Linked DNA regions of Homo sapiens: all the other regions are linked to region 1. Evidence: promoter capture Hi-C in 16 types of primary human blood cells and fetal thymus (Javierre and others, 2016). All regions are on one chromosome and are shown on one strand. The core of a region is centred on a gene start or on the middle of the fragment in contact, and the rest is flanking DNA. Distances in the headings are between cores, read along the strand shown.

The links. Contacts are between HindIII fragments. The CHiCAGO score rates a contact against its expected background, and 5 or more counts as called.
Region 2: a contact is called between a fragment that was not itself captured here and the fragment with the promoter of KATNAL1 in region 1, in 2 of 17 cell types (neutrophils and naive B cells). The highest score is 6.7, in neutrophils.
Region 3: a fragment that was not itself captured here is called in contact with the fragment with the promoter of KATNAL1 in region 1 in 8 of 17 cell types (neutrophils, naive B cells, total B cells and 5 more); the score reaches 12.8 in neutrophils.
Region 4: a contact is called between a fragment that was not itself captured here and the fragment with the promoter of KATNAL1 in region 1, in 1 of 17 cell types (naive CD4 T cells). The highest score is 5.8, in naive CD4 T cells.
Region 5: a fragment that was not itself captured here is called in contact with the fragment with the promoter of KATNAL1 in region 1 in 4 of 17 cell types (neutrophils, monocytes, total B cells and 1 more); the score reaches 11.9 in neutrophils.
Region 6: a contact is called between a fragment that was not itself captured here and the fragment with the promoter of KATNAL1 in region 1, in 1 of 17 cell types (fetal thymus). The highest score is 6.1, in fetal thymus.
Region 7: a contact is called between a fragment that was not itself captured here and the fragment with the promoter of KATNAL1 in region 1, in 5 of 17 cell types (neutrophils, naive B cells, total CD8 T cells and 2 more). The highest score is 8.9, in neutrophils.

Annotation. Positions count from the first base shown.
Region 1 is chr13:30,306,119-30,308,900 of GRCh38, forward strand. It overlaps KATNAL1 (katanin catalytic subunit A1 like 1), which reads right to left and starts at 1,433. Exons shown (of 11, transcript NM_032116.5): 1 at 1,213-1,433. RefSeq lists silencers at 1,068-1,177, 1,208-1,437. The HindIII fragment of the contact is 2,852 bases long and covers 1-2,123 here.
Region 2 is chr13:30,817,161-30,819,942 of GRCh38, forward strand. No RefSeq gene overlaps it. Among named protein-coding and RNA genes, the nearest start is that of LINC00398, 15 kb to the left of the region's middle. The HindIII fragment of the contact is 7,684 bases long and covers 1-2,782 here.
Region 3 is chr13:30,796,930-30,799,711 of GRCh38, forward strand. No RefSeq gene overlaps it. Among named protein-coding and RNA genes, the nearest start is that of LINC00398, 4.9 kb to the right of the region's middle. RefSeq lists an enhancer at 1,675-2,782. The HindIII fragment of the contact is 3,010 bases long and covers 1-2,782 here.
Region 4 is chr13:29,830,259-29,833,040 of GRCh38, forward strand. All of the region lies in intron 1 of UBL3 (ubiquitin like 3), which reads right to left. Among named protein-coding and RNA genes, the nearest start is that of UBL3, 19 kb to the right of the region's middle. The HindIII fragment of the contact is 151 bases long and covers 1,365-1,515 here.
Region 5 is chr13:30,780,340-30,783,121 of GRCh38, forward strand. No RefSeq gene overlaps it. Among named protein-coding and RNA genes, the nearest start is that of LINC00398, 21 kb to the right of the region's middle. The HindIII fragment of the contact is 5,080 bases long and covers 1-2,782 here.
Region 6 is chr13:29,853,284-29,856,065 of GRCh38, forward strand. No RefSeq gene overlaps it. Among named protein-coding and RNA genes, the nearest start is that of UBL3, 4.1 kb to the left of the region's middle. The HindIII fragment of the contact is 3,516 bases long and covers 1-2,782 here.
Region 7 is chr13:30,746,474-30,749,255 of GRCh38, forward strand. All of the region lies in intron 2 of ALOX5AP (arachidonate 5-lipoxygenase activating protein), which reads left to right. The region is part of intron 1 of LOC124903146 (a long non-coding RNA gene); the gene reads right to left. Among named protein-coding and RNA genes, the nearest start is that of ALOX5AP, 12 kb to the left of the region's middle. The HindIII fragment of the contact is 2,227 bases long and covers 283-2,509 here.

The DNA of each region.
Region 1 (2,782 bases), core at 183-2,682:
GCAAATTTCTAGGATGGTTATCTACCTATTAAAAAATTTTAAAGGGTCGTCAAGGAAGGTTTCGTAAATCTGTGTCAGCTTCCTTTACCAGCAAGTCTTTGAGTCAACTCTAAGGACTCAAGTGTACTCCTGAACATAAAAAATATATAAAGAATTAACTAAATAATTAAAACATGGTATTTTTCCTTCCGAAAACATGCTGAGAAATTCTGAATAACACTGGAATAATCAAAGAATTATTGCTGCCTACTGCTAAAAAAGTCTGTTTTTAAAAGTTACTAGTAATTTAAAGCTGAACTAATCAAAATATGTGTAGGCAGTGTTCAGGCTGGCAAGGGGGGGGTGGGGTGGAGCACTCATTTCACAACCTTGAACCTCAAGAAATAAAATTCAAAAATGCAAAAAGTTAAAAATGCCAGATACCACCATATAATCGCAATGACATCTTTTTATCTATTTCCACACTTAACCTTTAAACATTACTGCCCTTTGAGTAATTACCAATTGATGGGTTTAATATGCAAACACCTCTGAGCTACTTTAAAACAAACATGACTAACCCAGAAATAAACGTATCCAGGAAAGGAGAAAAACCTGTTAAAACACGGTTTCTCAGGTCTCACATCCAATGTGTGACATACATACGGTTCTGCACCGAAAGGCAGCAACCTGCGAGGGTCAGAGGCGCCGAAGACCCGAGGCCCTGCAGCTTGGGCGGCTGCTCATCCCTGAGACTGTGCAGGGCGGTGGCCCAGCCGGGGTGGGGCTGAGCGCTGCAACTGGGGCGGGCCCAGCTACAGGGCGGGAAGCCCGAGGCTCACCTCCACTTCCCTTTCCCAACGCACAGAGCCCAGGTCCGCGACCACTCAACAGCCCCCTCAAGACAAAGAGAGATTTTTTTTTCTGTCCCGGTCCGCTCAAAGTTTATCGGTCTTTCCCGGCGGTCGGGGCCGCCGGGCTTTGTAGTTCGCCAGTCCGAGCTACCCCACCAAGACCGCGAGCCCGAGGAGTCGCTGAACTACAATTCCCATGATGCACCGCGAGCCTGGCGCTCCCGCGCCCCTCCCCGTCCCCGCACGGGAGCCAGCGCCCGAGGAACCCCGCAGCCCACTGCCCTGGCGTCTCCGGCAGTGGGAGGCCGAGAGGGGCTGTTGGCTAGAGCCCTCCACCACCTGCTGTCTCGCCCTCGCCCCTTTCTCTCGGATTCATTACCCAGAAGGCGCAGGTCCGGGCACATTCAGCGATGCGGTCCAGATGGGGTGCGGGTGGGGCGCAGGCCGCCGCCGCCGCCGCCGCCGAGTCCGTTAGCTCGCGACGTGCGTGAAAAGGCGGCGGCGGCGTAGTGTTGCCATGGCAGCCGCGGCCGCGCGGTGGGCGCAGCGCGGGAGGGAGCGCGGGGGCTGTGAGTCCGCTCTGGGGCGGAGCTTGGGACTCCCGCCCAGGTTGCCGGGGGGAGGGAGGTGCAGCGGCGCGGGGTGGGAGAGCAGGGAGACAGTGACATTGAGGAGGACGTGTGGCCGACTGAGCTCTGGTCGTGCTTGATGAGCCTGCCTCCACTGCGTCCAGCCCCCGTGGCAGGGCACCTTCGTGCCTGCTGCTTTCGGAGGTGATGCCAGTGGCGTCGAAGGAGGGGGCACCCGGGGCGTCGCAGCGCCTTTCCCGCCGCCTGTCCAGGCGTCCGCCGCTGGGTCTGCCCCCAAGGGATGTGTGGATCCTACGCCACCTCTGTGTTTTTCTCCAGTCAAACCGAATTGAAGTCTTTCGCACCCCCTTTCTCCATTCTCTGGGGAGGGGGATAGAAGGGAATCCTTCGATAAGATGGAATGCATATGGCCTTTAGGATTATTCAGGAGGTTTTAGAATTTGCAAATGGCATTGCTTTCGACTGAATTTGGATTTATGCTGTTTCTTGGCAATCGTTTGTGGACTCTAGGATAAACAGGTTAAGAGCGTGGGCTTCTAAAACGAATTCTTAGTTCACGTCCTGCCCCTGTGCTTGGTAGCTGATGACCAGAGGCGCCTTTCTCACCTCTTAACGTTTTGATCTGCAAAAATGGAGATATCCATCTTGCAACTCTTGTAAGAAATACACGCATTAATACTGATGAAGCTCTATAAAACAAAGCTTAGCATTTAACAATAGCTATTAAATATTAATTATTTAATCAATAGTGATAAAAGTCAGAATAGTGGTTGGCTGTCGGGGAGGAGTTTGAGAGAATTTTTTGTAGTGATGAAAAAATTCTATAGCTAAGAGTTTCGGTTACAGAAGTATATGCACTTGTCAAAACTCTTGGAATGGGACATTTAAGATTTGTACATTTCACTGCATGTAAATTTACCTCAAAAGAGAACATAAAAATGTGTTGTTATTATTATTAGAGCTATAGACTCTAATGGAAACTACAGAGATATTCTAGGCCCAATCTCTAGATTTTATAGATGGGAAAACTGAGGCCCAGAAATTTAATAGAAAAAAAGAGGAAGGGGAGTGAATTCGTGACCTTGTCATTTTCTAGTAATGAATATCTCCTGAAAAATTATGGTTGAAAATAACAAAAATGGCTCCTGTAATCCAGCTGAGTCATCCTACCACAGAGATTTTCTTGAACTTGACTGAGTCCCTTATCCACCTTGTGGTGTTCCCCACGGCCAATGTCCTCTCAAGGATTGCACCGTCACTTCTGGCTCTCAGTTCTTGCTTTTCCTGAACACTTAGACCTCTCCACATATCACCTCTTACAACTCTCCTCTCTCTACTCCTGCTGACACATAATTTCGA
Region 2 (2,782 bases), core at 157-2,656, 510 kb after region 1:
ACCAAATTGCAGATGGCTTCCTTAGAAGTATGACACCAGTCTCTGGGGAACCAGCTTTTGGAAATCAAAACCTGTGACATGATGGTGAATATCTTAGGTCCTACCACTTTCTGTGCATGGGGTTATATGCCAGAATGCCTCTGACATACGGCAGAAATGGCCTTTTCTTCACATCTTGTCATCCCCCAGTCTGGTGCAACACGCTATAGACCACCGACATTTACAAGTGACTGGTGCACTAGGAAATTCTGAATGCTTGCCTACCAGTTAAGGCAACATAAAAATACGCAGATTAGTGATTTGATTATTAGGGCCCGTATCTGAAAACAGAGAGGAAGAAAGAAATGCGCTCAAGAATCCGAATTTGCATTTGTTTACTACAACAAAAAGTGGGCTGATGAGTTCATGGACTGATAATTACACTACACCTTGATCAACATGTTCTCAGTGGGCAACAACAAAAAAAACAAAGATCTTTGTCCCAGGATCCCATATATCCTGGGCTTGGCTGATAGGGGTTAATCAAATTAGTGAGCAAGATATATGAGCAGAGAGACCTGAGTGAGCATCTTTGATTCTGTACAAGTGAACCATGAAAAGAAAACTTCTGGGACCCATTCCGTCTCAATCTCATTAGGAACTAAGCCTGTCCCCCAGGGGCTGTCTCAGCCTGACCATGCCAATTGGTCCACGGAGGAGTGTGCGTAGTTAGGCACATGCAGGCAGACTTGACTCAAACTTTGTGATAAACGACTTTTTTTTTTTTTTTTGAGACAGAGTATCGCTCTGTCGCCCAGGCTGGAGTGCAGTGGTGTGATCTTGGCTCACTGCAACCTCTGCCTCTTGGGTTCAAGCAATTCTCTGCCTCTTGGGTTCAAGCAATTCTCTGCCTCAGCCTCCCAAGTAGCTGGGATTACAGGCACCTGCCACCACCCCCAGCTAATTTTTGTATTTTTACTAGAGGCGGGGTTTCACCATCTTGGCCAGGCTGGTCTTAAACTCCTGACTTTGTGATCCACCCGCCTCAGCCTCCCAAAGTGCTGGGACTACAGGTGTGAGGCACGCACCCGGCCTGTGATAAATGACTTTATAAACACCAGAATCCTGTGTTATTTGATGGTCTGTCCTACTGAAGCCTTTTTCCTAAGGTTTCTCATGTGTAGAGCAAAGCCTTTTTATTTTTAGCTGTTACGGTCATAGACGGGTTGCACAGCAGTGAATGGGTTTGGACCTGAAATGCAGGAGCTTGATGTGAAGTTCCATGACTCATATCAGCCCCACATTCCAGAGTCATTTTCCAGGAACCCGAGATTCATTCTGTTCTCTCCCTTGGCTCATCATTCATGCCCAGGACATTGACGACCATCTAGATGGTGATGAATTCCAAGTTCATGTCTCCAGCCCACATCTCTCCTCTGCATATCTCCAAAGGTCTGCTCAGCCTCACCACTCAGATATTTCACCACATCCACCCCTCCAGCCTGGCCCACTCCTGGTGAATGGCACGGCACTCACTAAGTTATGCAAGTCGGACGTGTTGGAGTCCTCATTGACGCACCCGCCCCCTCAGAAATCCTCTCCTCAGAAATCTCTCCTCTCTCAAGTGCCTGTTTCTTTCACCTCCTCTGTAATTCTCACTTCCACCCCTTATTTCCAGCTGTTCCTACACTCTGTTTCCTGGCCTCAGACCCCAGCCTTGCATGCCTAAGCCAGCTTCATATTTGGTCCTCCTCTATTCAATCTACTCACCCAAACACTTTTCTATATGTAAATCTGATTGCGTCTCACCTTGTTAAAACCTATGGGTCCCAGTCTCCTTTAAGATAAAGACTGCATTCCTAAGGGTGCTCCCAAGGCTCCACCACATCGGGCCCCTGTCTGTACCTATCCTGGCTCCTCGTGCTCAGGTGCCCTTGTCCCCTTTGCATAGCATGTCCAAGTACTATGTCCCCACCCACCAGCTTCTGGCACCTGCCGCTCCCTGTGCCATCCCTGCCTCACTCCTCCTTCCTGTCTCAGGCATCTCCCTCTTTTGGTCACAGCTGCCCTGACCCTCAGCCTAGGCTGGGTGTCTGGCCACCTGCTCTTGAAGAGCCACTTCTTCCATGCTAAATCTCAGCCCCGCTTGGGATTATTTATTTGTTGGTGTCATTACTCAGACTTCTTGCGTCTCCCTGACTAGACTGGGCCTTCATGTGACCAGGGGCTGTGTCTGGTTTTGCCACTGTTGTACTCCCAGTCACATCCATGGTGCCTGGCATGACATGCCTGCATAATACGTACTCAGTAAGTGAATGAACCAACTGACTCACCTACAGAAAGGACCTTTGATGTCTCTCCCAACTCATCAGAATAATCCAAAATAGTCAGCTTTGAAGAAAAAAGGAGTATTTATTTGATACCACAAAGAATTCTAACAGAAAAGAATGCTCCAAATCTTCTAAGGCACATGTAATAGGAAGGCAGGTCTGGAGTGAATAGCTTGTCAAGTTAATGATTAGTTTGGTGTTTCTTTTGCTGTAGGATTATGACAAATGTAACAAGACTGTAGATATAATTGGCCCTGGTGCTTTGGCCTTACGTTTTACACTTATCAGTTTTCACGGAAGTAAATCTTGAATCCTACAGCTCTCATCAAATTGGATGCTGAAAGTGCAGTGACATCATAGCAATAATGATGTGGAGTATTTATGACCGAGCTTTTTGGTGAATGTGCTTGTAATGCATCTTCTGTTTAGTGTTACTAGAACACCAGCATAATTATTGGGCTGGTTATTTGTTA
Region 3 (2,782 bases), core at 82-2,581, 490 kb after region 1:
TCCATGGCTCCCGGTGCATCCGGATCTGTGACAGTTACACAAGACGTGTGCTTAAATATTTACCATGCTCAGAGTCTCCCCAGCACGGTGGGGCTCAGAAGAAAATCCAAGAAGCAAGGCGGCTCTGGCATCATCCGCTCCTAGCTTGGTGGAGCATATGTCTTGATGGGAGGTATCGTCAACAGACTGGGCGACCTGTTGCTTTAAAAGATGAACAATAACGATCTCCTCTCAGACTCAGGAACAAATACTAGGCATATCAGATTGCTTGTGAGACTTAGGCAATTAGAATGGTTCTGTGATATCATTCCCCTGAGGGTCCAGGAACTCCCCTAAGTTCCCAGTGTGGGTGCACAGTGTGAAACGCTGGAGGAGGGGAGAAGCAGCAGACATGTTTCAGCACCACCTACGCGTCTGACATGAGCTTTTGTTATCTCATTCACGCTGCAGGAACATTGTCTCCATTATCATTATGATTGTTTCTACTTTACAGATAGGGAAACCAGCTCAGAGAAGGTGAGTAATGGACCCGAGGTCACACAGCTGTGAGACGCAGGGCCAGGATTTGGCTCCAGCTACTAGCCTGTAGCAGCATGGGCATGGCCCAGTGGAAAGACTAACACAAAGATGAACATCCCAGCACCCTTCCAAAAGGCTCTCCAAAGAGATGGGTCCCACAAAGGTGCAACAGTCTCCAAGATTCCCTGACCTCACTGTACAGCCAGAGGTTGGGAATTCCTTCCCTTAAGTCAGCCCTGATCCTGGTGCCCCCCTGTACATTTCTCCCACTGACAACTGCTCAGGGAGGTTCCTCGCCAGGGATGTAAACAGGACAGGGTCAGACCCCAAGTGCCAAGTAGGTAGCCAAGGGGGACAGAGGCCCTGTCTAGGGTACCTGAAACACACTATGGAGGGGCTGGTGGAGAGATTCTACTCTCCACTTGGATCTTACGCAGGAGCAAGGAGGTAAAAAGAGTGACCACACACACTAGATTTCACAGTCAGTAAGGACTGAAACCTCTGATCTGCTGACTGGCTTCACCAGGAGGGATATCCTGGGAGTCCCAGGCAGCCACTGGCAGCACCCCTGCTGTGGAACCCAGGATTCCTGCACCTGAAAGGGGAGTCTTCTGGGACCACTCCTGGAGCCCAGGAGGGCTGCACGTGTCAGGGGCCCACAGACAGGTGAAGAAACCCTTTAAGCCTCTTTCCTCGAGTGAAGGCCGACCTCCCCCACTCCCCGGCATTAGACATTCTGGTTTTGCAGGAGCTGCTGATGGTGGCGGTAGTAGGGGGAGAGTCTACATTTCGAATGAGCTTCCCTTCCTGGTGGTCTTGGTACAAGTCTGTGGGTGTATTTTGAAAACTGCTGCTTTCCCTCCAACACAGCTTCCCTTGCTGTCTCCTTGGACTGCAGCAGCGTTTCTTACAGCCACGTGGCATCTCAGGGAATTCTCTGGAAGATGAGGCTACACCGAAGTCAAGAGGCGTCTTTGCTGGGCTCACTGTTGAGCTGTGGAGGGCCTGTAAGGCCCCAGAGGAGGCCGTTCCTTGGACTCTGTGCAGGGAAACTTCTCTTGACTAGAAATACACCTGTCTTCTCCGCCCAAAGCCCAAAGTGGGTGGCCTGGGCTTGCAAAGAGACGAGCAGGCTCAGGGCAGGATGGCTCCCTGCAGCTCTATGGCCTCGAATGGGGTAAGGGACTCCCTGGAGGCCTGAGTAATTTGGGCACTGGGAAAACAGGGTCCTCTATTTCTAGTTTTCCTGTCCAGAGCACCCCAGGGCTGTGTGCCTGGCCTTGTGGGGGCCGTGACCCTGACCCTGGCTCTCCCTAAGGTGACCACTCACCCTAGAAACACCCTAGAAACTCACCCTAGAAGATTTGCTAAACAGCAACAGTTTAGCTAATCTTCACATCTTTGAAGGTACAAAAGTCCCATGTGGGGCCTCGGGTCAGAGAACTGCCACAAACAGCCCGTGAATTCATTAATCCTTCCCCAGCCTCTCGGTTTGGCTGCATTCCTTCATGTATCCATTCAACACATAGCACTGAGCATCTACTGTGTTTGGATTTTGGGGGAATCTTTGGGTAGCTTCAGCTACTAGGACAAAGAACACCGCCCCCTGAGATATACATGCCTGGACGATGAATCCTGTGCGTCTACACAACATTTCTGAATGTTCTGAAAAGGAAAAATAATAATAAACAAATGTGTGAGGTAGTGATTAAGATATTCACAATATTTCCCTTTAAAACAGGAAAGTCTGACAGCTAAAGAGGAGAAACGTCTTTGCTGTCCCCCCGACTCCCACTTCAATTTAGACTCCTGATTGCTTTCTTGATCTTTCAGGGTTATAACCGCGATCTCAATGACTAATAGAAAACTCCATTAGGCTCCGTCTTTATGAAGGGAATTAATGACTTCGTAAATTTAGTGCTTCGTAAACATAGGAGGGGGAGCACTTCCCTCAGGCTTGACGATTCCCTGGCAGGGAGGGAGGCTGGATAGGAAAGGAAACGCTTCCAGCCTGCTGAGAGGCCTCCTCACCCAAGCATTCTCTGCTGCTCCTTAGAAAGCCAGGCCCCACAAGGCTTAGGTGCGCCAAGATCCTGAAAAAGAAGTCAACGCGAAGGCACGAGAGCTGGGAGCCAGGGAGAAAGAGATGCGTCCGCCGACTTGAAAAAAAATACCAACTGGTGAAATTTTCAAATATAAATGCAGATTTTAATTACAAATGTGTGTCCTTGGCAAGTCCAGCTTTTGTCCTGGATTAGAGAAA
Region 4 (2,782 bases), core at 190-2,689, 480 kb before region 1:
GACTCATGTGTTGCCATAATTTGAAAAGCAAAAATATAATAACAGGCTTACATCTGCAATCTGCAGTACATACAACTTATCAATGAACCCAGAATAAAGGTATTTAGGGAAAAAGTTTTCCCAGCTTTTGATTTTTCTTGGCTGCCTGTTCGAAGTCCCAAAGGAGTAAGGTAGACAGTACTTTGGGGAATGAAAAAGCCATTTGCTTCCCTCCTATGACAGCTGGGAATCTAATTTCCCAATTTTTTAGTAAAACTCCTTCTCTGGGTACAAAGAATTTAACAAGAAACAACATCTCTTCGCAATCTCTGCATCAAAGCATGAACTAGATGACTGCTACTGAACCAACAGCCCTACTATTCTGTAATAGAAATATTCACCTTTGTAAGATTAAAAAGGAATAATTTCAGAGCAAAAAGCAAGTACTATTAATGCCTGTCCTGATTATATGCAGTAGCAAAGCAAAGGTATTTTGACAATTAGAAAGTGTTTGGAAAATATAGATACAGGCACAAGAATGGAAAAAATGACTTTCAAAAAAATGCACATACTGAATCCTTCTATGCCTAGCATATCAGTATGGAAGAAAACTACAAGAATTATATTAAAAACACTCTTGACCACATTGAAATACTTGATAATATATTGAGACCCATATAGCTTTCACCAAATTATACAATATTCCTCACCTCCTTGCTGTATCTGCTGTTGTTGACAAATCTGCCTCCTTGAGTTTCTCCCTATATGCCTTAAATGACAATCCAGCATTTTTTTTTTCTTTTTTCCTATAACTCTGTTCCTTTTCTCACGTTCATAATTCCCTTTTTCCCAAATAGAGGGGTTGTGCCTTCAGGGTATCCTCCCTCCCTCCCTTGGTGACTCATCTAATCTCATATTGATATTTTTTCAACTGAATGCTCACAAAAATTTATACTTTTTAGACTTCTCTTCTTTCCTGATGAGTAATTTCACACTCTTACAGAAGTTAAGGAGAGGTAAAATGACTCACAGATTCCTATACTACTTGCTCTTTTAAAAAAGATAATTCTTGCTGGGCGCGGTGGCTCACGCCTGTAATCCCAGCACTTTGGGAGGCCGAGGTGGGTGGATCACCTGAGGTCAGGAGTTCAAGACCAGCCTGACCAACATGGAGAAAACCCGTCTCTACTAAAAATACAAAATTAGCCGGGGTGGTAGTGCATGCCTGTAATCCCAGCTATTCGGGAGGCTGAGGCAGGAGAATCGCTTGAACCAGGGAGACGGAGGTTGCGGTGAGCCAAGATCGCGTCATTGTACTCCAGCCTGGGCAACAAGAGCAAAACTCCGTCTCAAAAGAAAAAAAAAAAAAAAAAGATAATTCTACAAGCTTGATTATATGTCTTTCTATATGATAGTTGACTAAAATCAGAAAAGTTAAAAGAAAGGCTGATGACAGCTTACTTAATGATAGAAAAAAAAAGAACGCTGACATTAAGAGAAGAAAAAAACTAAAAAATCACAAAAAGTAAAACAAAAAGCTTAGCAGTCTGGGACCACTTGGAATACAAGTCAAAAACAAACAAACAAAAAAACAAAAAAAGTCAAAGATCTTTTTAGTCCACTGAAAGTATTATATAAACCATACAAGTGCACTGTCCAATAATAGTAGCCACTAGATACACATAGATATTTTCATTAAAATTAAACATAAGTAAAAATTCGCTTCCTCAAACACTAGCCATGAAGAAAGTGCCCAATAGACACAAGTAGCCCAGCACGTGGCTACCTTACTAGACGACACAATAAAGAACATTTCCATGATTGTGCTAAGTTCTATCAGACACCTGCAGTGCTAATTCAACATTCATTGAGTTTTCCTTATTTAGTAGGCACTGTGCTAGACACAGCAGTTTAGAAAGATGAGGCCTCTCTGCCCTCAGAGTAAGTACATAGTCTGTTTAGTGGGAGAAACACATAAAAACACTTACAATTGCTAGAGTACAGGTAATGAAATTTATGAAAGAGCAACTAATTCTGTGGCCTAGCTCTGAATTTCAGACCAATTAGCTAAGATTCCAATCCTTTTACCTAATTTCTTTTTTTTTTTTTTTTTAAGACGGAGTCTCGCTCTTTCGCCCAGGCCAGACTGCAGTGGCGCTATCTCGGCTCACTGCAAGCTCCGCCTCCCGGGTTCACGCCATTCTCCTGCGTCAGCCTCCCGAGTAGCTGGGACTACAGGACCCCACCACCGCGCCCGGCTAATTTTTTGTATTTTTAGTAGAGACGGGGCCTAATTTCTATAATTTACCTTCTCTGTAGACTTAGCCTTGTTCATCTAGCAGTAGACTGTATAACAAATAATGCTGAGACTCACTACTACTTAGAAATCCCCGGGCCATCAGAACCAGAAGTACTGATGCCTGCATAGTTAATTTAAGTTAGCACTGTTCCTCTGGAGTCTACGCTTTACATTGCTGGCAATCCGTGATGGAAGCAGCTATCCTGCCACTCTGGCTACTTTTCCTTGGTCCCTCCCAGAAGTCAGCTTTGTGCCAACTGTCATTTTTAATTTGGATTTCCCAGCATGTTCTATACTTACAGTGTCTAGCTGCCTGACAAAGTTATAAAACATTACCAAGGAATTAGCACTGCAGTTGAGGACAAGTTTCAGGTGCAAATGGAGCAAGATAAAGAGAAGTCAAGGTCCACTTTAAGCAGAAAGTGAAGGCTCTGCAAAGGATGAGAGAGAAGCACAGGAGTTAAAAGAAAGATTATGGACAAGCAGGGGTTCATTACAACTCAA
Region 5 (2,782 bases), core at 185-2,684, 470 kb after region 1:
GGAGCCCAGACAGAAAATTGACACAGGGGCAGAGCCACTACAGGGAGTGCCTACCAAGGTTGGTGGAGCTATAAAGGCAGGGCTGCCCTCAAGACCCCAGAATTGTAGAGCTACTAGCAGCATGTAGTGCCTGCCTGGGAAAGCTACAGGTGTCTGATTTCAAGCCCTGGAGCACCCACATGGGCTCTGCCCAGCAAAACCATGGGGATGGGGCTGCTCAAGGTCTTGGGAGCCTACCCCTTTCACCAGTGTGCCTAGGAGGCAGCACCTGGAGCTTTAAGATTTAATGTTCGGTCTACTGGGCTTTGAACTTGTGTGGGACTTGTCATTCTTTTAGTTTGTCTGATTTTTTCCCCTTTGGAATGGGAATGTTTATCTTGGAAGTAAAAAACTTGTTTTTGATTTTACAGGCTCAGAGTTGGAAGGAGCTTGCCTTGAGTCTCAGATGAGACTTTGGACTTTAGACATTCTAGTTGATGCCGGAACAAGTTAAGACTTTTGGAGACTATTGGGAAGGGATAATTGTATTTTACAATGAGGAGGGCATAAGTTTTGTGGGGCCAGAGGTGGAATAATATGGTTTGGATATGGTTTGTTTATCCCCACCAGATCTCATATTGAAATTTGATCTCCACTGTGGCTGTGTTGGGAGTTGGGGTCTGGTGGGAGGTGTTTGGGTCATGGGAGGTGGATCCCTCATGAATGGCTTAGTACTGTTCTCAAGGTAGTGATTGAATTCCCACTCTTGGATTAGTTCTCTTGGGAATAGATTGTTTCCCTTTGAGGGTGGGTTGTTACAAAGTGAGGACACCTCTAAGTTTTGCCCCTTTCCTTTGACCTTCCACTGTTTCATGAGGAGCAGATGTTAGCACCATGCTCCTTGAACTTCCCAGCCTGTAGAACCATGAGCTATATAAATCTCTCTTTTTTTTTTTTTTCATTTTAAGTTCTTTTTTTTTTAATTATACTTTAAGTTTTAGGGTACATGTGCACAATGTGCAGGTTAATTACATATGTATACATGTGCCATGCTGGTGTGCTGCACCCATTAACTCATCATTTAGCGTTAGGTATATCTCCTAATGCTATCCCTCCCCCTTCCCCCCATCCCACAACAGTCCCCAGAGTGTGATGTTCCCCTTCCTGTGTCCATGTGTTCTCATTGTTCATTTCCCACCTATGAGTGAGAACATGCAGTGTTTGGTTTTTTGTCCCTGTGATAGTTTACTGAGAATGATGATTTCCAATTTCATCCATGTCCCTACAAAGGACATGAACTCATCATTTTTTATGGCTGCATAGTATTCCATAGTGTATATGTGCCACATTTTCTTAATCCAGTCTATCATTGTTGGACATTTGGATTGGTTCCAAGTCTTTGCTATTGTGAATAGTGCCGCAGTAAACATACGTGTACATGTGTCTTTATAGCAGCATGATTTATAGTCCTTTGGGTATATACCCAGTAATGGGATGGCTGGGTCAAATGGTATTTCTAGTTCTAGATCCCTGAGGAATCGCCACACTGTCTTCCACAATGGTTGAACTAGTTTACAGTCCCACCAACAGTGTAAAAGTGTTCCTGTTTCTCCACATCCTCTCCAGCACCTGTTCTTTCCTGACTTTTTAATTATTGTCATTCTAACTGGTGTGAGATGGTATCTCATTGTGGTTTTGATTTGCATTTCTCTGATGGCCAGTGATGGTGAGCATTTTTTCCTGTGTTTTTTGGCTGCATAAGTGTCTTCTTTTGAGAAGTGTCTGTTCATGTCCTTCGCCCACTTTTTGATGGGGTTGTTTGTTTTTTTCTTGTAAATTTGTTTGAGTTCATTGTAGATTCCGGATATTAGCCCTTTGTCAGATGAGTAGGTTGAGAAAATTTTCTCCCATTTTGTAGGTTGCCTTTTCACTCTGATGGTAGTTTCTTTTGCTGTGCAGAAGCTCCTTAGTTTAATTAGATCCCATTTGTCAATTTTGGCTTTTGTTGCCCCTGCTTTTGGTGTTTTAGACATGAAGTCCTTGCCCATGCCTATGTCCTGAATGGTAATGCCTAGGTTTTCTTCTAGGGTTTTTATTGTTTTAGGTCTAATAAATCTCTTTTTTAAGAAATAAATTTATAAATAGAATACCCAGCTTCAGGTATTCTGTTATAGCAACACAAAATAGACTAAGACACTCTCCAACCTCCTAATTATGGAGAGCTCAGGCTTGCTGCACAAGTCTCTTGCACATCTCCAGATACCTGAGTGATCTTCCTCACATTTAATAATTTCTAAAATTTGTCTTCTCCAAAGGAGATCCCTTTCTTAACCTCCAGACTAAAATATCACATTGCCCTCATCCCTACTTAATGTGTCCAAAACAAAACCTCTGATTCTCCATCCACACAATCACTTTCTCCCTTAGTGGGCCCATCTCAGTAAGTGGTAACTCTGTTCTAATTGCTCAGGATGAAACCCTGGCATCAACATTGACTCCTCTTCTCTCATACTGCACATTCCATTCTTAGCAAATCCTGTCAGTTTTACCTTCGAAAAATTATTTTTAAGATCTGACCATTCTCACCACCCCCACTGCCCAATGCCATTCTAAACTTCCACCATCACTGCAGCATAAAGCTCCATGAGGGCAGAGGGCTTTGTCTGTTTTGCTCATTGCTATGTTCTCAGCTCTCAGCACATAGTAGGTGCTCAGTTGCTATTTAATAAGTAACCTCTCACCTAGATTATTGCAGTAATCCCCTAGCTCGGGGTTTCTTGGCCTCAGCACATTTGACATTTGG
Region 6 (2,782 bases), core at 178-2,677, 450 kb before region 1:
TACGTTCACACTGTGCAACCACCACCACCATCCATTCACAGAACTCTTTTCATCTTGCTCCCTGAACTCATTAAGCACCAACTCCCCTTTCTGTCTCTCCCAAACACCATTCTACTTTCTGTTTCTATGTTTTTTTACTACTCTGAGTACTTCATATGAATAGAATCATATGGTATTTGTCTTTTTGTGGCTAGCTTATTTCACTTAGAAAAATGTCTTCAAGATTTATCCATATTATAACATGTCAGGATTTCCTTCCCTTGTATGGCTGATTAATTTTCCATTGTATGTATATACCACATTTTATGTATTCATTTATCCATGGATAGACACGTCAATTGTTTCTACCATAGAGCTATTGAGAAATGAGTGGATTTTATAATATGTAAACTATATCTCATACATTTGTTAACAAATATATCTCCCCCATCTACCATGTAAGTGTCTAAAATGGCTCCCATCTTAAGATCATTCCTGAAGGATCTTCTCAAGGAACCTCATGAAGTTAAAATAACTAAATGGAAGAATTACTTTCTGTGAAACCAGTAAACTTTTATCATGTGGTTCTTTAGTTGATTATCTCATGATGCCATGCTCTGTCATTTACAAAGGATCAGAGAGTAGGAAAATGCCATAAGAAGCAGAGACAGCCTTTGCCATCTCCATTCAGTTTTGCTCAAGGCTGGCCTGATCTGCAGGTACCCAGACCCCCAGACACAGTGTGGAGTTTCCTATCAAAGGGCAGCTGGAACCCTATGTGTTCTGGTCATGGCCCAGGGGCAGGGGCCCAGTGTGAGGGCAATCACAACTCTACCCATGCCTAAGGTTCTGCTTTAAGTCTTTTATTTGATTCTAGCCAATGTAAGAGTCACTTCAAAGACTTAGTAAAATTATTCTGTACTTCCCATGAGAAAACTATGTGAAAACCTCTAACATAGAAGGGGTCTCAAGAAATGTTGATTCTGCCACGTGCAGCGGCTCATGCCTGTAATCCCAGCCCTTTGGGAGGCCAAGGCGGGTAGATCACCTGAGATCAGGAGTTTGAGACCAGCCTGGCCAACACAGCGAAACCCTGTCTCTACTAAAAATACAAAAAAAATTAGCTGGGAGTGGTGGCAGACGCCTGTAATCCCAGCTACTCAGGAGGCTGAGGCGGGAGAATCACTTGAACCTGGGAGGCAGAGGTTGCAGTGAGCCGAGATCACGCCACTGGACTCCAGCCCGGGCAACAAGAGCAAAACTCCGTCTCCAGAAAAAAAGAAAAAAAGAAATGTTGATTCCCTACCACAAGTGGCCAAGGGCTTTCCTCTGAAACTAGAGATAATTTACTGAATGGTTTTGTAATAGATTTTCCTCCCTTAGTCTTTACTCTTGCTGGAGCAGAATGAATGTGTGTTTAGATTTGAGAATTGTCCTCTGAAGCAGTTTGCAATATAAAGAATAAAATTCAATCGTGTAAAGCAAAGGAATAGATAGGACAGGCTGGGTGACCTCTTTTTACTCCCATACACATATGGCAGATACCTCCAGCTCTTTAACCCCACACTTTCCTAAACAGAGATTCTCAACTTGCTTCCTATAAGAATCACTGGAATTCCACATATAAGTGAAATCATGCGGTATTTATCTTTCTGTGCCTGGCTTATTTCACTTAACATAATGGCCTCCAGTTTCATCCATACTATTGCAAATGACAGGATTTCTTCCTTTTTATGGTTGAATAGTATTCCATTGTGTTTATATACCACATTTTCTTTATCCATTCATCTGTTCATAGACACTTAGGCTGATTCCATATCTTAAGCATGATGGTTACCAGAAGTTGAGGGAGTGGGAGTGGGGAGGAATGGCGAGTTGTCAATCAAAGGGTACAAAATTCCAGTTAGACAGGAGGAGTAAGTTTTGAGAACTGTTGCATAGCAGAAGGACTATAGTCAACAATAATGTAGGTGTATGTCTCAAAATCATTGAGTAAGTTTCAGATGTCTCACCACAAAAAATGATGAGGAAGGTTATGTAAAGGAAGTGATAGTTAACGCTCATCAGCTTGATGTAATCATTCCGGGTTGCATAGACATATCAAAGCATCACAGCGTACCCCATGAATGTATACATCATGATTTGTCAAATTAAAATATTAAAGAAAAAAAGAATCGCTGGGAGTCATTTAAAAAGGCAAATACCTGAGCCCTCCTCCAGACCAACCAAATCAGACTGTTCAGGGTGGGGCCTGACACTGGTATGTTCCAAATCTCTAAAGCAATTCTAATGTGCAGTGGAGAAACACTGCATATGCCAGATTCCTTCTGCCCAGCTCCCCACCTTTTCCCAGTTAGTTTCTCTTATGAGAGTGCTCACCTGAAGGTAATGTGATTTATAAAGGTGACCCATGGCCACAGTCGTGAGTGGTCTGAGGAACAATCATAGCACACTGCTCTCTCCTCCCACTCCCTATGCCATTGTATTCATGCACCAACCTAATAACTAAGAGATTGACCTTTCCCTGATGCAGCCCTAGTTTCCGTCTCAAGACGCTTCCCACTTTGCTCAGAGTCCAGTAAGAAACACAGACAAGTAAGGTGAAAATTAAAATGCCATATGGTGAGTTGCTAAATGCTACCACAGGAATATGCACTAGGCACTTTGAAAGCACAGAGGAAATAAAGCAAACTCAGCCTTGAGGCGTGTGGAGTTTAACCAGGTGAAAGCCAAGTGAACAGGCAGGGTAATCAGGAAGAAAACACATGGACCTAGACTCAGGGCAGAGTGAGGCAGAGAAGGG
Region 7 (2,782 bases), core at 146-2,645, 440 kb after region 1:
GGGCCAGCAACATATCTGTGTGCCTGTCTGGGTTGTAAAAAGGGTCAAAGATCAATGCAGCAGGCAGCTACATGCTGGCAAAAGCCAGAGGCAGCTGGTCTGTTTGCCTGTGCCAGGAAACCACTGGGAATGGGGTTGTGTGTTATTCTAGGAGAAAGTCGTCCCAGCAGCAGCTTCTCCAGGGGCATCCAAGAGCACTGAAAAGGGTTGCAAGATGACCCATGAGGCTGCAGGAAGAAAAGAACATGCATTTAATCTTGCTATCTGAAAAGTAAGACATGAAGCTTTCCTCATTTTTAATATACACATGGACAGTAGTATGTGTATATAGTTTATATGCAAATATACTTGTTATAAGGTTGCATGCTCAAAATTTTTGGTTCATGGGGTGTGGGATCATAAATGTTTAGGGACCATGGCTATCAAGGAAAAACAGCATGAAGGATAAATGATACTGGTGGATTAAAAAGACAGATGCATGTATTTTTAGCATAAAACACAACTGCTGACTGATACAGATAGCTCAAGATTCTGGGGCAGCTGCTGAACAGATACACTAGCCAGTGTGGCTCATCGGCTCAGACTTGGCCTTAATTAATGGGCTGTCCCTCCACCCATCTCCCATGAGGGCAGAGCTGAGCCAGGGTTTGAGAGCTAAAAGGAATTGGACCTGGACTCTGTTCACGTGTATATTTTAATTCTAATTAATTCATTCTTTTGAAAGACAGAGTCACACTCTGTTGCCTAGGCTGGAGTGCAGTGGCACGATCTTGGCTCACTGCAACCTCGGCCTCCCAGGTTCAAGTTATTCTCCTGCTTCAGCCTCCTGAGTAGCTGGGATTATAGGCACATGCCCCCATGCCTGACTAATTTTTGTATTTTTAGTAGAGACGGGGTTTCACCATGTCAGGCTGGTCTTGAACTCCTGACCTCAGGTTATCCACCCGCCTTGGCCCCTCAAAGTGTTGGAATTACAGGTGTGAGCCACCGTGCCTGGCCTGTTCACATGTATAAAACACAGTTTAATGTCCTATTCCCAGCCAATGAGCATGGCTAGAGCAGCCTTGGTCAAAGTTTGGTTTTTGGAGAAAAATCCTTGTTAGCTGACCTAAGATTCCTCTTTGTGAGTGTAAGTAAGCACAGGTTGCAGAGAGGAGAAGGGTCTCTGGAGAGGTGTAATTTTCTAAATGGATTACAAGTTCATGGACTTTTAACAGGTGTTACAGGGGATAACAAGTTCTTTATAGACAGACTTTTGAGGACGTTTAAGGGTATTCTGATTCTTGGTTTTCTAAGAGGGGAATGTATTATTTAACTACAGACACCCCTACCGCCCACTTTTTGCAGAGTGTATCAAAACATGTTTTTGGAATACCACCCTCATGTCGCTTCTCCCTGCATCTCTTATCTCTTGGTGTCCATTCTAGACTCACTTTCTTTCTGTTTTTTATTTTTATTTTTTTTTGAGATGGAGCTTCACTCTGTCACCAGGCTGGAGTGCAGTGGTGCAATCTTGGCTGACTGCAACCTCTGCCTTCCGGGCTTAAGCAATTTTTGTGCCTCAGCCTCCTGAGTAGCTGGGATTACAGCATGCACCACCATGTCCGGCTAATTTTTGTATCTTTAGTAGAGACAGGGTTTCACTATGCTGGCCAGCCTGGTCTCAAACTCCTTACCTCAGGTGATCTGCCCGCCTCGGCCTCCCAGAGTGCTCAGATTACAGACGTGAGCCACTGGTGCCTGGCCTAGACTCACTTTCAAGTGGCATAGACTTGTAAAATTATTTAAAGGTGATAGGTCTACAATGATCCTGTCAATTAGTATTGACACTATTATTAATAAACTGTTATTAATTATATTTACTTACTTTAAATTAATCCAAACTAATTAACGGAACACTAAAGAGTTTCTATGTTTTATTCCCAGAGGTGGAGAAAAATGAAAGGGAATATAGCAACGAATTCTTTTCTCCATAAAAACATGAATAGTGCAGCACATCAAGTTGAACATACCACAGCAAATTGTTGCAAGATCTGCTGAGTAGCTCCTATTTAGACCTCAAGGAATGAGACTCAAAATGGGTTCATCAGTTCTGTTTTGCAGAAAAAATAGCGCAAAATTTCTCAAAAGAAAATCCAGAATAATAATAATTTGTCAATAGGAAAGACATTTCCACTGGGGGTTAAGAAGGAAGACATTGGAACAATGATAGCCACCACTTATTGAATGCTTACTGTGAGCCAGGTGGCACTTCACCTTGTTTCATTCTCACAACAGTCTAGGGAAGTAATTACTAATGTCTCCATCCACCTCTTGTAGATGAGCAAACTGAGGCTCATTGAGGCTAGGAAATGCACCCACACTCACATAGCCCATAAGAGGCAGCCATGGCATTGGGCCCAGACCATGTGAACTTCAAAGACTACACGAGCAGCCACTGGGCAGCTGTCATGGCTAAAGCCACTTGAATTCAGCCCAGCAGCAACCCCCTCTCCAGGAGGGGCACATAAGCTTGCAGCTTTGGGTAGAAGCTGCACTTGAAGTCCTGGATGGCGAGAGGGACTGGCTTGAGCCAGAGCCAGGAACAAGGCTCTGAGAATATTCTGGAAATCCACAGGAGGAACCCATTTTCTTACAGCTGGGAGAATTTCATTCAACTCCAGGCTGACCATGTTTTATTAGGAACGAAGGTGACTTGAACTAATAGTCAGGAATGGTTGAATACGGACCCAATGTCAAATCACTAGGCAGTTCACATTTCTAATGAGCAAATCCCTTAGAC